Regions from separate parts of the Homo sapiens genome. Here region 1 is linked to region 2. The links are contacts of gene promoters, found by promoter capture Hi-C in blood cells and fetal thymus (Javierre and others, 2016). All regions are on one chromosome and are shown on one strand. The core of a region is centred on a gene start or on the middle of the fragment in contact, and the rest is flanking DNA. Distances in the headings are between cores, read along the strand shown.

Region 1 (4,044 bases), core at 485-2,984, 710 kb after region 2:
GAGTAACTGGGATTACAAGCACCTGCCATGATGCCCAGCTCATTTTTGTATTTTTAGTAGAGGCAGGGTTTTGCCACATTGGCCAGGCTGGTCTCAAACTCCTGACCTCAGGTGATCCGCCCACCTTGGCCTCCCAAAGTTCTGGGATATCAGGCGTGAGCCACTGCGCTTAGCCCTCTCAACATTTTTTTAATGTATTCCTCAAATTCCCTACAATGTAGAAAGTGGGAAGTATCTAGTAAAAAAAAAAAAAAAAACAGAACAGGCATGTTTCTTTTTCAAAAAGCTTTGAGGCATTGAAGACACAACCTTTAAGACATGAGTAATAAAAAGCATCACAGACACCAGTTCAAACAAAGATAAGGTAATCTAAATATTTTTAAAGTAGCAAGAAACAAAAACATAAAATTGTGAAGATGCATCCTAAGCATTCAGACCAGACAAAATGGCACTCACAAGGGAGAGTCCTTATACCACTGGACCAAATGGCAGAAAAAGAACTGTGGCTTTAATAAAGCCTCTCTCTTAGCGCTAGATCCAGAAAAAATTCCTGGACTGAAGCCCAGGAAAAAAATTTGTTAAGTAAACATGTAGATCTATCCATGGCAATGAATTTAGAAAACGTTAAACTGAATTCTGTATATGCTTAGAACTGATAACAGAAGTACATAGCATAAATATGTTATTTTCCTGGAGCATATATTCAAACCTGAAGCATCTGAGGGCTCAGAGACTTCAGATAATCATAATCTTTAAGAAAGCCAAATGACAATGGTAACCAGAATTAAAGTGACTGAAATCTACAAACAATAAAAATTCATGCCATTAATTTTAACATTTCCCCCCAAGCTTCAAAAAACATGACGAATACAAAATTTATTTCCCCCTTTCTGCCCTATGTGTTCTAACCCACAACATACAATGAATAATGAACCAGTTAAAAAAAATAAAATAAAATCCACAAAAAGGGAAATCAATCCCTGAATAATTAAGTTTGCTATTATTTCAGAAAAGTTAATGCTTAAGGGATTAAATTAATAGGATAACGACCTTTATACATTTATATGTTATATTTAGGATGCAAAGTCTAACATTTCTTCTAAGGAATTAATGTATAAACCTAAATCTTGGGTTCCATACCAACTACTCCAGGTCCTTGAACTTCTTCCACGTCACCCTTAGCATTTGTTATTCTCCAATAGCGACTGTCCAACTGACAGGCCTTCTCAGGAAGTGCATCTTTTGACATTTCAATCCTAGAGAAGGGAATGGGGTGGTAGAGACAAAAATCTGGCTTCTTTGTTTCTTTGGTTTAAGAGATACAGTATTCAGGCTAATACTATGAAGAAAAATTTCCAAAAAATTAAGAAACCCAACCCAAAGTCCATGTTAGCCATCTATTTTTCTAAGTTCTCAAAGATACTGGCTTCATTAACTTGATCCCCCTACAAAAATGCTTTCACTCAACTTATGCATTTGACTGTCAGTGTGGATCAACAACAGAAAGGGCAACATAAAATGTGCAACATAATGGTGACAACAATCTTTCGCTGTTCAAATAAAGATCAATTTGGCAAATGCTTTCTAGAAAATAGTGCCATGAAAAACTTCCGGAGAACTGAAAGTCTCTCTTTAACTGCATGAGACTATACAACCCATTTCCCTTTTTTCCATTAGTTTCTAGACAGTTTAAGACAAGATGTCACCAGTTACTGGGATTACACTTTTTTTTTTTTTTTTTGAGACAGGGTCTCACTCTGCCACCCAGGCTGGAGTGCACTGGTGTAATCTTGGGCTCACTGCAGCCTTGACCTCCTAGGCTGAAGCCATTCTTCCGCCTCAGCTCCTCTAGTAGCTGGGGACTACAGGCATGTGCCACCACACCTGGCTAATTTTTTTAAAAATTTTTGTAGGACAAGGTCTCACTATGTTGTCCAGGCTGGTCTTGAACTCCCAAACTCAAGCAATCCTCTCACCTTAGCCTCCCAAAGTGCTGCGATTATAGGCGTGGGCCACCGTGTCCAGCCTGGGATTACACTTTGACTCTGTTTCCCAATGCTATCACTTTCCCCTTTCCCTAGGAATCTGGTGTCTCTTATTTTCACTTTGAGTACCCTATAAGTATGTGTTGGTATTTTTATTTTGAGCACATCTCAATCCTAGGCAGGATCTAAATCAAACAAGTAAACGACAAATATCTATACATGTGTATTTGGATATAGCAAAGGTTGCATACAGTATCTAAATCCTAGGATGCTTCCTGGTAGTTATATTTTACTCAAATACTTCCAGTATGCATATATGCATGTATGTGTATTTTAAAATATACTTATATATTACATAAAATATATAAAAATATATTTTAAAGCACAGTATCCTTAATCCCTTAGGGCAATGAGTTATCTTTGTGTCATAGCACAGAATACTTCTAACTAACGTAAATTTAAAATATTTGCTTCTTATTTAATAAAATTCAATGTCTAACACTATGTCTGACATCCATGAAGCACTCAATACACATTTATTAGATTTTTTAATTGAATATAAATAGGCCAGATGAAATTTAAAATGCATGACTTTATTATGGCAATTTGAGAGCTTCTAGAATGCATTACAACTTGAAGCTTTAATGACGACTACAACTTAGTGGTCCATTTCCACAGTACCTGGCACAATACTTGATACCCAGTATATTTTCAAGAAATAACTTAACTTAGAGGTTAATATGAAGTCAAAGTCCTCCATGAACACTATCTTGTAGAAAATGTATCCACCTTCCTCCAAACTTCAGCAAGTTCTTTCAAAATGTGTCTTACATATCATGTCAAATGGGACAATAGCAACATGTCCATTGGATATATCCCACCATTAACTGAAAGGTGACCCCATTTAAAATTCTCACCTGATTCGGTATGTGAAGAAATAGTGGGGTGGATGTACAGAGCTAAGTTCTGGCAGAAACGATGTGGAAACTGACACAGTAATATCCCCAGTTGTTGCTACACATTCTGGATCGTGAACATATCTAGGTAATTTAAAAATTAAACATTTTAAAATCAACTACAGGATTTAAAAGATACGATGCAAAATAGGTTATACTTTAGGACAAAAAATTTAAATCATATTTCAGACCCAGAAAAGTTCAATAATATTTGGGTATAGTCCTATTAAACTTTGAAGGAAACTAGAAACAAACTACAAAACCTTGGTGACTCTGGATCAGTAATGACAGCAATCAAGGTTCAATGATCAGTGGTTCAAATAACGGATTGGTAATTAGCTTGGAAACAAAAATGAGCTTATTCAGTTTCCAGGGCTAAGGAAACTTTTGGGACATCTGAAAACCCAGCTGCATGATGTCCAATGCTAAATGATGGCTCTGACAATAAAAATGTGCAAGTATGCTGTTCTCAGAAGCCTCTAATGTATAATCAATCTATCATTTCTGCCAACCAGGCTATTATGAACCAGTATTACCTCCAGTACTCCCTACAATACCTGAATGTTCCATTTAGAGATAATAAATATTTGCCAGGAATTAACAGTTACCGACTTGCTATTCATAATAAATCTATCAGTTGCCAAATAACTTTTTGGTGTTTTTCAAAAATAAATTATATAGATACTATTAACCCATAGTTTCTAAATCAAAATCAGCTTTTTCTTGATTCTTCTGGATAGGAAAAATACCAGTTGTCTAAGCATTTAGATGTTTGGCTTTAAAGTGAGAATAAAATAGTGAGACTGAAGACAATCTTCTATTATCAACCTCAATAGAGAGGTTCTATTATCAACCTTCTTGGGAAACTTCATTTCATGATCTGTGACTTATCATTTTTCTCTGATTTACAATCATTTCAATCCAAAAAGACCCAAAATAAAATACCTGAAAATTTGGTCTCTGATGATGGGGAAGCCACCTGATACAACATTTTTGACATAAGAGGTAAACCAGTCAGTAAAAGTAGCACCTATAAAGCAGGAAAGGGAGAAAAAAAGAAAAGAACAAATAGTTTTGTAAAATCTATACAGGAAACAATTGTA
Region 2 (3,835 bases), core at 586-3,085:
TCTCCTGCCTCAGCCTCTCCAGTAGCTGGGATTACAAGCGCCTGCCACCATGCCCAGCTAATTTTTGTATTTTTAGTAGAGACGGGGTTTTGCCATGTTGGCCAGGCTGGTCTTGAACCCCTGACCTCAGGTGATCCGCCCGCCTCGACCTCCCAAAGAGCTAGGATTACAGGCGTGAGCCATTGCACCCAGCCATATTAATCTTTTAAGGAAGGTTCTAGCCTGCTTCCCCAGGGAGCTTTTAAAACTTGTCTGGCATCACCCTCCCCGGAGTTTTGGATGATACTTTTCCAACCCCTGCCCCTGAGATTCCAAGTTGTATTTGTAGTCAGGGCTGAAAAACACTAGAGACTTAATGGTACGAGTTTAGACTCAGAAGAACTGCATGTTTTCTTTGCAGATCTTTTTTTTTTTTTTCAGACGGAATCTCACTCTGTCACCCAGGCTGCAGTGCAGTGGTGCGATCCCGGCTCACTGCAACCTCTGCTTCCCGGATTCAAGCAATTCTCCTGCCTCAGCCTCCCAAGTAGCTGGGATTACAGGCATATGCCACCATGCCCGGCTAATTTTTTTGTATTTTTAGTAGAAACGAGGTTTCACCATATTGGCCAGGCTGGTCTCGAACTCCTGACCTTGTGATCCACCCACCTCCGACCTCCCAAAGAGCTAGGATTACAGGTGTGAGCCACCGCGCCCAGCCATTCTTTGTAGATCTTAACAGTTCCATTTAGTTGAGTATCTTAAGGGTTTTTGGTGTTTTTTCCTCCAAAAAGTGAATCTTCACCAGAGAACTTCTGTTTTTGTCTTTTTTTTTTTTTTTTTAAAGCAAAGACTTTAATGTGCAAGTTAGTAAATGGTTTGAGGGTCTGGTATTGCACTCGGCCTTCAATACGTTAGCAATAACTACCCACATGTGATCTATTTAGAAGCAGTGTTTGAAAGCACCAATGTCACCCCATCTGCTTTTTTGTAGTTTTTTTTTGTTTGTTTGTTTTTGAGACAGAGTCTCGGTCTGTCTCCAGGCCGCAGTGCAGTGGCGCGATCTCGCCTCACTGCAACCTCCGCCTCCCAGATTCAAGCGATTCTCCTGCCTCAGCCTCCCGAGTAGCTGGGACTACAGGCGCGCGCCACCACACCCAGCTAATTTTCGTATTTTTAGTAAAGACGAGGTTTCACCATGTTGGCCAGGATGGTCTCGATCTCTTGACCTCGTGATCCGCCCGCCTCGGCCTCTCAAAGTGCTGGGATTACAGGCGTGAGCTGCTGCGCCCGGACTAACTTTTTTTTAAAGCTGAGGAAATGAGAGAAGGGGAATAAACTTTGTGTAGCTACAAACAGGATGGCAAAATTAAATTTCAAAGAACGGGCGGGGAAGGTTTCAGATGCAATGGCTTCTTATTCCTTCTTTTGACTGACCCGCGCCTTCTCCGCCTCCCTTTCTCCTCGCGTCACCCGCACCAGCGGCTGGGATGCGGCGCGCGTTCCGTCTTTCCGTATGGAAACATGGCGCCTAGGGGCGGGCCATCCCCAGCTTCGAGCCACCGCCAGCTGAGACTCATCGGCGGGCACTCGGCCATGCCTCTCGCGTTTCCGTACGAAAACATGGCGCCTCACTGCGTGCGGCGGGCGACTCTTGGCTGGGAGCCACTGGCCACGGAGCCCCCTGAGCGGTCATCGGCCATGTTTTCCACCTCTCCCTGAGGAAACACGGCGCCGCCCAGCTGCGAGTCACCGCTTACTGAACCCCTTCGGCAAGCAGGGGAAAGACCCTCCCGCCTTTCCGTACGAAGACATGGCGCTGCCCTATATTGGGCTGGCGCCTCCCGGCCAAGAGCAGTCTCCTCCTTCCTGATGCTGAGAAGCGGCCGCTCTGACCGCTGCCCACCCGAGTCGGGCTGGGAGGACCGCCCGCCGCGTGGCGAGGGATGCGGCCTCGGAGGGGCAGAGGCTGAACCGCCCCTGCCTGCCGCGCATCCCTCCGGCTTCCGCCGCGGCGCCAGCCCGCGCCTGATTCGCGGCGGGAGCGGCAGGAGGGAGAACGCCGACTCCGTGGCAGGTGAGAGCGGGAGCTGGGGCGGAGGCTGGCGGGGCCCGTCCGGGAGGCGCGCGGTCCAAGTCGCAGGCATCTCTTCGCCTCTTCCCGTCGGATCCCATCCCGGGATGTCGGGGGCAGGCGAGGAAGAGGCGGGGTCCGCGGGCGGGTGGAGCTCACCCCTCGAGGCTGTCCTCTCGGCGCGCCCGCGTCCTCCCCTACTCCCGGCCCTGCCACTCCCTCGCTGGCCTGAACAGCTGTTTACAACGGAATCCGGACGCCGGGCGCGAGTGGAGCTCAGTGCCAGAGGAGGGGATTCCCGGCGCCGGGGGACAGAGCCCCTTTTTTCTTTTGCCGAAAGACCCTTTCTGCTGGGGAGCCTCTTGTGTCCAGCCTAGGCCCGCGTGCAGCGCCGACGGATGACCGTCTTCTTGGCAAGTGCGAGGATCCTCCTCCCCTCGGCTCTCTTTTTAGACACAGTGGGGGTTGAATGGATGCGCGCGATATAAGCAAATTAAATGGTTCGTGGCCGCATCCTAGAGCCCTTTAATTAGAGTTACCATTTGTAGAAGGCCTGCCGTGCACAATCCCTCGTTTCATCTCCCCCCAAACCGAGCAGGTAGGTAGCTGTGTTTTACAGAGGAGGACACTGAAGTTACACAGCTAGTAAAGAGCCAGAATTGGGGCCCAGGTATGTCTGAAACCAACGCCCAGCCTCCCAGATACAGTGACATCACAGAGATGACGTAGGGATTCATCTCTATCAACAGATACTTGTGGGTGTCTATTTGGGGGATATACAGATGGAGCATAAGTGGGGAATATGACTGGTCCTGGCTCTTAAGAAGTTCGAAATCTAGGTGGGGAATTTTAAAATAAAAACTAGCACTTTTACCATCTGGCCCCAACGCATCTTTCCATCATCTCTAGCCACTTCCTTTTCTCATTTTCTTGTGCCTTGGCTTCTGCCCTCTGAGTGAAATGCCCTCCTTTTCACCTCCTCTCCCCCTCCTCTCCCCCTCCAGACATGTTTTAACTAGGTGAAATCCTACTCCTTTTAAAGATCAGTTCAAATGTCATCTTTTCTGGGAAGGTTTTCTCAATCTCCTCCCAGGCAGAGTTAGTTTCTTCCTCTGCTATATTCCCTGGGCAATTTCATAATGCCACTTAAGTTTCATTATGGCTCCTTGTAAGCCTGTCTGCCTCCCCCTCTAGACTATGTATTTGCATCTTTCTATTTAAATAAGCACGCTTTGAATTGAATTTAAGGCAGTGACAAATGCCAAATGTCAACTAGCCAGCCCTGCAGGAGTTGAGAAAGGTGCAATCACTGGTGAGGTCCGGGAAGTGTCCTGGGAAGAGACAGGACTTGAACTCAATCTTAAGGATGGGGTTAGTTTACTAAGCTGAGCATTAGAGACCTAGAAATCCTCCCTTTCCTCCTCACTGCACAGAATGAATTACTTCATCCCTCCTGGGCTCCTTCTCAGCATGTGAAGATAATAAAATTAGCAGCGTTTTGTTTGTCGTTTCTCACAGAATATGCTGGTAATGTTATCCTTTGGATCTTGGAGCATTTCCTGACCCTAATAGGATTTAGGACACAGAGGAGATGGGTGTCTCCAGTGGGGTGTTGGAAGCTAAGATGGGTCTCGAAAGGGAAAATACATGAAAACAACTTTCATATTAATACAGGCCTGGGCCAGGTGCAGTGGCTCACGCCTATAATCCCAGCACTTTGGGAGGCTGAGGCGGGCGGATCACTAGAGGTCAGGAGTTCGAGACAAGCCTGGCCAACATAGT

The links. The method cuts DNA at HindIII sites, captures the fragments that hold promoters and counts their contacts. A CHiCAGO score of 5 or more calls a contact.
Region 1: a fragment that was not itself captured here is called in contact with the fragment with the promoter of TCP11L1 in region 2 in 1 of 17 cell types (erythroblasts); the score reaches 5.1 in erythroblasts.

Annotation. Positions count from the first base shown.
Region 1 is chr11:33,747,637-33,751,680 of GRCh38, forward strand. It overlaps FBXO3 (F-box protein 3), which reads right to left. Exons shown (of 11, transcript NM_012175.4): 7 at 3,887-3,971; 8 at 2,903-3,025; 9 at 1,141-1,256. Among named protein-coding and RNA genes, the nearest start is that of CD59, 13 kb to the left of the region's middle. The HindIII fragment of the contact is 1,775 bases long and covers 848-2,622 here.
Region 2 is chr11:33,037,737-33,041,571 of GRCh38, forward strand. It overlaps TCP11L1 (t-complex 11 like 1), which reads left to right and starts at 1,836. Exons shown (of 10, transcript NM_018393.4): 1 at 1,836-2,056. RefSeq lists enhancers at 1,239-1,786, 1,507-1,856, 2,337-2,656 and a silencer at 1,837-2,236. The HindIII fragment of the contact is 10,463 bases long and covers 1-3,835 here.